Regions from separate parts of the Homo sapiens genome. Here regions 1 and 3 are each linked to region 2. Evidence: promoter capture Hi-C in human tissues and cell types (Jung and others, 2019). All regions are on one chromosome and are shown on one strand. Each heading gives the region's core, a stretch centred on a gene start or on the middle of the fragment in contact. The rest is flanking DNA. Distances are from core to core; before and after follow the strand shown. Region 1 has its middle 330 kb from the start of LINC01029. Region 2 holds the start of ZNF236 (zinc finger protein 236). Region 3 has its middle 300 kb from the start of LINC01029.

Evidence for each region. The method cuts DNA at HindIII sites, captures the fragments that hold promoters and counts their contacts. A contact is called where the count stands out against the background at its distance.
Region 1: a fragment that was not itself captured here is called in contact with the fragment with the promoter of ZNF236 in region 2 in 1 of the 25 tissues and cell types used here (dorsolateral prefrontal cortex).
Region 3: a fragment that was not itself captured here is called in contact with the fragment with the promoter of ZNF236 in region 2 in 1 of the 25 tissues and cell types used here (lymphoblastoid cells).

What each region holds. Positions count from the first base shown.
Region 1 is chr18:77,664,842-77,667,551 of GRCh38, reverse strand. No RefSeq gene overlaps it. Among named protein-coding and RNA genes, the nearest start is that of LINC01029, 330 kb to the left of the region's middle. The HindIII fragment of the contact is 5,019 bases long and covers 1-2,710 here.
Region 2 is chr18:76,820,926-76,823,890 of GRCh38, reverse strand. It overlaps ZNF236 (zinc finger protein 236), which reads right to left and starts at 1,334. Exons shown (of 31, transcript NM_001306089.2): 1 at 1,229-1,334. The coding sequence starts at 1,283. ZNF236-DT (ZNF236 divergent transcript) reads left to right here and starts at 1,596. Exons shown (of 3, transcript NR_040024.1): 1 at 1,596-1,875. RefSeq lists silencers at 703-1,442, 1,563-1,752 and enhancers at 1,823-1,932, 1,973-2,052. The HindIII fragment of the contact is 16,105 bases long and covers 1-2,965 here.
Region 3 is chr18:77,687,668-77,690,388 of GRCh38, reverse strand. No RefSeq gene overlaps it. Among named protein-coding and RNA genes, the nearest start is that of LINC01029, 300 kb to the left of the region's middle. The HindIII fragment of the contact is 5,257 bases long and covers 1-2,721 here.

The DNA of each region.
Region 1 (2,710 bases), core at 62-2,561, 840 kb before region 2:
GGCCATCGCTTAACTTCTGCTTAAAAAGCAGTTTTCCTGGTTCTTGATCCAAGCCCAGCATCTGCAAGAACAAGTTATTGACAGAGAGAAATCAGAATCAGGGTGCAGGAAACCCCAAACAGTGGCTCCCTCCCAGCTCAGCAGGTCCCAAGCAGCCTACACCTTGAAAATGCACACAGGGCCAGGCGCAGTGGCTCACGCTTGTAATCCCAGCATTTTGGGAGGCCAAGGCAGGTAGATCACTTGAGGCTAGGAGTTCAAGCCCAGCCTGGTCAACATGGCAAAACCCCCTCTCTACTAAAAATACACACACACACAAACACACACATACACACACATACACATACAAATAGCTGGATGTGTTGGGACACACCTATAGTCCCTAGCTACTCAGGAGGCTGAGGCAGGAGAACTGCTTGCACCCGGGAGGCAGAGGCTGCAGTGAGCCGAGATCACCCCACTGCACTCCAGCCTGGGCAGCAGAGTGAGACTCTGTCTCACAAAAAAGGAGAAGAGAAGAAGAGGAGAGGGGAGGGGAGGGGAGGGGAGGGGGACAATTCACAGAAGAAAAGCTGATAAACACATGAAATGGCGCACAATATGATTCTTAACTAGGTCCACATTAAATAATTGAGATTCATTGTTTGACAATGGTGGCAAACTTTTTAAAAAGATGACTAACGGACAGCAATGGCAACAGTGGGAGGCAATCAATCATTTTGGCCTATTGGGAGGACTATGTATCATGATGAAAATATTTGGAGAGTAGTTAGAATTGTTTCTATATTCATTAGCATAGGCACTCTACTATAAAAAATAATTTCCCAAATCTCAGTGGCTAAATCCAACACAGTTTCCATTTCTAACTTTTATCCAGTCCAACAGAGCTGATGGCGAGGGGCAAAAGAGGACTCCACCCAGTCATTCAGGGCCCCAGGCTCCTTTCCTCAGTGACTCCATCGTGCACGAGGTAGCCCCAGCATTCTCCACTGGATCCTCTGCACCCAGCGAGAAAGAGAGATGTGCATTGGACCTGATGCTGGTGACGGCATGGAACAGCTTCCTCACAGCCAGGCTGCAGGGCTAATAGCGAGATTCTGCTGAACTCTGTAAAAACCAGGAATCGTGGATCACACCGGAAAATGATGGATGGAGAACTTTGGTCTTCATTGTTGTTGTTTCTAAAATTTATTTGTATGACTTTTTCATTGATAAACTCCCCTCTGATACCATGGCTCCTACAGCAGGTATAGCAGGGAAATGAGGCTACCTGGAGGACCCACCCTTACATGAGCAGCTCGGAGGGTGACCTCTGAACCATCTCCTCATGACGGCAGCCGTTCTGGGTCCTGCTCACAGCACAGAGGTGCAAACTTCAGACCTGGGAGTCTTGCTCTGCTGGCACTGCCCTTCATGTTTACATTATACTTTCACTAATTTTTTTTTTTTTTTTGGTCCACGCACTTAATTGCTTCCTCACTAACATACCTTGGGACTGGTTATAATCCTTCTCTATGGAGATATGTTTGCTATCTGATGCTTTCTCAGGACAGAGCTGCAATTTTAGCTAAATTACCAAGCTCTTCAAAGTGATGCAATTGGGAACATTCAGACAGTTGAAAAATGGCCCAGAAAGCACGAAAGATTCATTAAAGCACCTGGTGTCTGCCTGGAGCTGTGTTACATGGAGAAAACACCAAATCCAATAGAGCAACTTCTTTCCCCAAGGAGCTCCAAGCCTAGAAAATAAGATAGACGAAACAACAATGATGGTGCAATTTCTGTCTCATCTACGCAGCCAAAACTCAGCAACGCCACAATTTAAGTTTCCCTCCACTTCATTTGCTCTGAGATGCTTGTTAGTTGCTAGTTGCACTTCCACAGGAGGCTTCAGCCCCATTCAAATGCATAGCATATTTCCTACAGAAATTCTGCCCTCGTAAGCTGGATCTCTCGTAGTACACCCCCTTCCACTGTCCTGACTTCCCCTCCGTGGCACCTCCATGACAATTGCAGAACACCCGGCGAATAACGGTGCACCTGCAGGTTCATTTTACTACCTGTGTTCTGCAGACATAGAGAAAGGCCGCATCTTTAGTTTATCTTGTAACTGAGCCATCTTTTTCTTGTGTGAAATGCAGCATTGTGCTCGCAATGTTTTTTTTCAAGTGCTAACCTTACTTCCTGTTTAATATTAACTGGTTTTCTTCTCTTGCTTAGGAAAGTTAAGCTTTTGAGTTTTTATTCTTTCCTCATCTATGGGCGTTTTCTCTATCATGCAAATGACAGTAGATAATACCCTCATGACTACAAGGTTACCACTTTGTGACCACATATTATGGTTCTGAAATTCAAACTACGCTCTTTGGTATCATCTGTTTTCTCCATTTTGTCATTGGTTCAGTAGCAGCTTTGATAGTTCTGTCTCCAAAAATTCTGGTACTCCTTGTATCTTTATGTGTCCCTTTCTCTACTCAGTGGGATGTGTTGGAGACTTTTCCTCCAGCCCCTTTCCCAGGAGCAAGCAAGCTTGCCCTTCACAAAGCTGGTGCATGCTCTAGCAAACCCTGTGTTGAACACCATGAAAACCAACGCTCAGACGCCAAGCGTTTGGTGCTTAAGAAGAACGACAGTTCTGTTGGCTCCTACAGCTCATTCCTCCTTTCACTTTGTTGAGATAAATTTCCTATTTATGACCGTTCCCCTTTGG
Region 2 (2,965 bases), core at 85-2,584:
AGACTCGCGTCCAAGGCCGCACGGGAACCACGGCGCCCGCGAGAAAAAGCGCGGCGCCCCCTACCCCACTGCCCTCGACCTGGGAACCGCGGCACCGGCGAGTGCGCCCCGATCCCCCTGCGCAGGAAAGTCCGTTCCTCAAGCTCCGGGCTGGGGCTTTGGAAGGCAAGTCAATTCCTGACTGCTGGAAGGGCCAGGGTCTGGGGGTGCCCGGTTGTGTGTCTGCCTGCTCTTAAATTCTGGGCCTTTCTCCTTCCTTGGAAAACAAAATCTGAGTTATTTCATGACTTTAGCAAAGTACCATGGAGAATAAATTACTGGGGAAAACACTTCCTGACGCCTACTGTGTGCACGATCTAGCGCTCCCCACATAACACTGATGCCTACTGTATGCACGACCCACAGCGCTCTCCAGAAGCTCCAGGTTCAAGCTACCCGGATCACAATGGTGCCTACTGTTTGCACGACCCACAGCGCTCTCCAGATGCCCAGGGTTCCAGCCCCCCGGATCACAATGGCGCCTACTGTATGCACTACCCACAGCGTCTGCAGAGGCTCAGGGTTCAAGTTCCCGGATCACAATGGCGCCTACTGTATGCACGCCCCACAGCGCGCCCCAGATAACACTGGAGCACACTGTGTGCACGACCCTGCGCTTCCCGGACAACGCTGGCGCCTACTGTGTGCACGACCCCGCGCTCCACGGCCTCCCTGTGGGCCGAGCCCAACGTCCCCGGGGCAGCCGGCGCCGCGCAGGGTCGGGCGGGGGCGCCGTCCGGGAGGAGCCCGGGGCGCGGTATCCGCAGGCCCGGGCTCTGGCCAGGCCGCCTCCCCAGCGCGCCCCGCGGCCCTCCGGCCCCGGGACGGAACACGGGGCGGCCACTTTCCCTCAAGTTCAGCGCGGGCCGCGGCAGGGCCAGCGGGGGCAGGGCGCGCGCAGGAGGCGGCCGCCTGCTCCCTCACCCGCCTCCCGCCTCCCGCCTCAGCCGCCGCCCGGCCCAGGAAAGTAGGCCCAGCGCGCGGAGGGGCCGGGCGGCGACTCGCCCGTATCATTCCGCCCGCGCTGCGGCCCGCCCGGCCAGTCGGCGGCGGCGGCGGCCCGGGTCTGCGCGGCCCCCGCCCCCGCCCCGCCGCTCCCGGCGCCCCCCGCGCCGCATCCGGGGACTGGCAGGGCGCGGGCCCCGCACCGGCCGCCGGCGGGGCGCGAGGGCGCGGCCGCGGGCCTTACCGGAGTCGCCGCGCGCCTTGCTCTCCCTGGGCTTCGGGGGGCGGCCCCGCGGCATCGTCGGCGGCCCGGCTCGCACCCACACCCACTCACACTCACACTCACACTCACACGCGGCGGCGGGGGCGCGCACGCGCGGGCACCGGGGCGGGGGCGCGCCCAGCCGGCGCTAGAGGCGGGCGGAGCTGCCCGGCGGCGGGCGGCCCGGTCCGAGCGCCGCCGGGCTCACGGGGGAAAGGCGCCTGAACGCGCGCACCGGAGCGCTCGAACCGCGCCGGCCTTGGCAGGTTCCATGGCCCGCGGGCCGCGGTGGGGGCGTTGGGCGCGGGCGCGGGCGCGGTGGGGGCGGGGGCGGCGGCGGGGCGCATGCGCGGCGCCGCGGGGCCTTAGCGGACGGAGGGGAGCGCGGGGGTCACCGGGCCGGGCCGGCAGCCCTAGAGCTCGGCCTGGCGGGGACCCTGGGCCAGCCCCGCGCCTCCGTGGCCCGGGCGTCTCGTGCGTGTCCGCGAACTCGCGTGCGCGCGTCACCTCGGACCGCAGCATGGCTCGGAGGGCGGCCCTACTCGCGCCGCCCTAGTGCTGCGAAGGGCCTCGGAGCCCAAACCCGGAACCGCCATCTGGGACTGGGAAGACGACATGGCCAGAAGCCGGTAATGTTCCTTTCCCTGGGGGCAGTGCATTAAAATGGACCATTTCACGTGTGCTGGTCTTGTGTGTTGTTGCCTGCGCTAACTTACACGAAGTGGCAACAGGAACAGGCAGCGCAGCACCCGAGCGCCGGGTGGAGAGGCCGGCCGAGCCCGGGGAAAGCGACCTTACTCTGTCACCTGGGCTGGAGTGCAGTGGCGCAAATTAAAGTGTGCAGTTTGATACATCTTGACACATGTATACACTGTGAAACCATCATCACAATCAACAGTGAAGATGTTCCTCCCGTCTCTCTGTAACCCTTTCCTCTCTCCCTCCTTCCCTCCTCCCCCTCCCACCCATCTGCTTTTTGTCACTATAGTTTGAATTTCCTGGAGTTTTTAAATATCTTTTTATACAGACTGGGTCTCGCTTGCTCTGTCACCCAGGCGGGAGTGCAGTGACACGATCGGGACCCACTGTAGCCTCAAACTCCTGCCCTTAAGCAATCCAACTGCTTCAGCCTCCCGAGTAGCTGAGACTGCAGGTGAGGACCGCCATGTCTAGCTTTTTGTTTTTTTTTAAACATATGGGGTCTCTCTGTGTTGCCCAGCCTGCTCTGGAACTCCTAGCTTCAATTGACCCTCTGCCTCAGCCTCCCAAAGTGTTGGGATTGCAGATGTGAGCCACTGTGCCCAACCTGTTTTTCTTGGTGTTTTATATAAATGGAATTGTATCGCACGTAATCTTTAGGGAAGTGGGGGCTGTTCATTGAGCATAATTATGTTGGAATTCATCTATATATTGATAAATATTTTAAGTGCTTTTTATTGCTGAGCGGTGTCTAGGAGTCATTCTTGCTTACCCTTTCCCACTGCAGCCTTCACTCAATCTCATCAAAGATCTAGCTCCAATATATAAACCAAATCCAAGCCATTCCCACGTATATTACCCCTGAGCCATGCTCTCTCACCTAGATTACAGATACAGCCTAGTACCTGGTCATCCTCCAATCAGTTTTGTCTACAGCCATGCGAGTCTTCTCTCTATGCCTTAAATAAGACAAATGTATTCCAGCTCTTTTGAATATTTCCAATTGTGAAATGTTCCTCT
Region 3 (2,721 bases), core at 46-2,545, 870 kb before region 2:
AGCCTTTAGAGCGCCGGCAGGCCGCCCAGAATCAGACAGACAGACTGAGCCTTTAGAGCACCGGCAGGCCGCCCACAATCGGACAGATAGGGGATGGAGGGCCCCTAAGCCCCAACAAGACCTCTGCCTTGGCCAGAATCAAGTTGACCAAGAAAAAGAAAGCAATCGATAAATGGTGTCTGAATAAGGAGAACGGAATCCCCAATGGGCCCCCAAAAGGCAGATTCTCTGTAACAACAGTAAGAGACATTTTTTTTTTTAAATCAAACTCCTTCTATAGCTACTGCTGAAGGAAAAGGAGTTTTCCAAAGAGTATTTTGAGAGCTATGTGAACCTATCAGCAGCAGGGAAAATTTGCAGATGTAGATGGAGTCACAACTCTGCTCAAAATATGCTGCAGCAGATGAGAACAAAACTCAGAACCAGAGGAGCAGAGATTTACTTTGAAATCTGAACACTGACCAGTCCAGCTCTGCTGCTGATACAACCCCCATCTTCTGTTAAGTGGTTCGTACTCAGAATTCATGCAATGCCTAAAACTTGTCTAAGAGCTTTAAATATTCGAGTTAAAAAAGATATCATCTGTCTTCTACAAAAAAATAGCATCCACCATAGAAAAGGCAGGTGCAGGACGTGAGACTGCAGTGCCTAGGGGAAAGTGTGGAAACAGAGACCAGCACGTTTCCCATTAAAATATGTCTAACAGCAAGGAATGAGAAAAGCAGCAATGATTACACTACCCAACCCAGGAGTACAAGGCTGGCCATCTCAGCCACTGGACAGGGAGTCTGCAACACAAAGCCAAGGCCACCAGGATGAGGTGCAACCTGGGCTGAGAGAGGCAATGCCCCCATAAATGGAACAAAGCAGTTGCATTGAAGAAAAGTCAAAAGTTCTGTCTTCCTCCATGATTCCCTTCCTCCCTGGTTAAAAAAAAAAAAAATAGAAATCCTGAGGAAAATGAGATACACAAGACAGAAAGACAGGGCAGACATTTATCTACTCTACCAGGGCCAAGTGTCCAAGCTGGTGACACGCTTGCTGTTGGTTCCCAATGGTGGCACCACATGGCATGTGTTTCTCTGTGTGTATGAGTTCTCTAGAGTGAGAGATTTTACTATATTAGTAAAATCTGAGACTTCAAGTGTGTGTATCTGCAATTTCACCTATTTTTTGCAAAGTTGTTTTTAATCATTTCTATCCTCTCTGTCAGTGTATAAGCACACTTATTGATCCATAATTTCGTCAATGATTGTTATCATTAGGTGTCGTTAAGCTTTTGTATAATCCAGATTTTAGATTAGTATATAATTTCTCTTATCTTGATTGTTAGTTATTTGATTTATTTATGCTCTATACTTTACTCTCTACTTTTTTAAAATTTTATTTATTCATTTATTCACAGAGGCTGTGAGGCTTGCAGTTCATGTGTCTGATGATTGATCTGTAATCTTTACCCAGGTTAAAATAATAAAATATAGAAAAAAAGGGAAGATTGAGCCTAGATCTCTCCAAATAGTCAAGATGTGGCATTGGTTAATAGAGTAGAGTTGACAAAAGACTCAACAGAGTTTTGGGTGACTTTGAGGCTTCAGTCTTCTCTCAGCACATCCGTAGATGATGCGTGTATTAGTCTATTCTCACACTGCTATAAGAACCTACCTGAGACTGGGTAATTTATGAAGAAAAGAGATTTAATTGACTCCCAGTTCCACTGGCTGTACAGAAAGCATGGCTGGGAGGCCTCAGGAAACATACAATCATGGCAGAAGGTGAAGAGGAAGCAGGCACATCTTACCATGGCAGAGCAGGAGAGAGAGAGCAAAAGGCAGGTGCTATACACTTTCAAACAACCAGATCTCATGAGAACTCAATCACGGGACAGCACTAGGGGGATAGTGCTAAACCATTAGACATCATCCCCATGGTCCAGTCACCTCCCGCCAGGCTCCACCTCCAACATTGGTCATTACAATTCAACATGAGATTTGGGTGAGGACACAAAGCCAAACCATTTCAATGTGCATTGCTTCCCCAGTGCCATCGACCTGGTACACATAGAAAATGATGATATTTGCATATTTGATATTATGACACACATAAAAAATGGCAATATTTTCACAAGGCACTGGGAAAACTAGACGAGATTGCTCAAGATGGGAGATCAGCCTAGGGTTCCTGGTAGACACAGGCACCACTCAGCTACCCTAAGAGCTGAAAACATATTTAACCATACATGCAAGACCATGGACGATTGGCCAGGAAGTTCTGATTTGATTCTAAATCCTACAAGTGCCAGAATTCTGAGTCTTTCCTACCCAGTATTTGGGGAATATGTTTTTCTTGGTCTGATGTTAATGACGATAATTATAATTTAGAATTAAGTGTTTACTATGTCTTAGGTCTAAGGGCTTTATTTGTATTCCTTCATTTAACGTTTACAAAAATCCTCTCAAGTAGGTACGCCTCTATCCTTATTTTACAGTTGAGGAGATTGAAGGACAAAGAGTTTAAGTAACTTGCCCAAAATCATCAGGTGGTTAATGGTAAGGATGGGATAAAGTCCAGGTCATTGGGAGCTGAGGACATAATCTGAATTGCTAGGCTGGCTACCTCTGATGGTGCACGCTTCCTGAATCACAAAGTCCACTCTGGAGACGTGCTCCTGTCCACATCAGAGTGTCAATGTGCTCTGCTAGAGGAGGGGTTTTCTTCAACAAA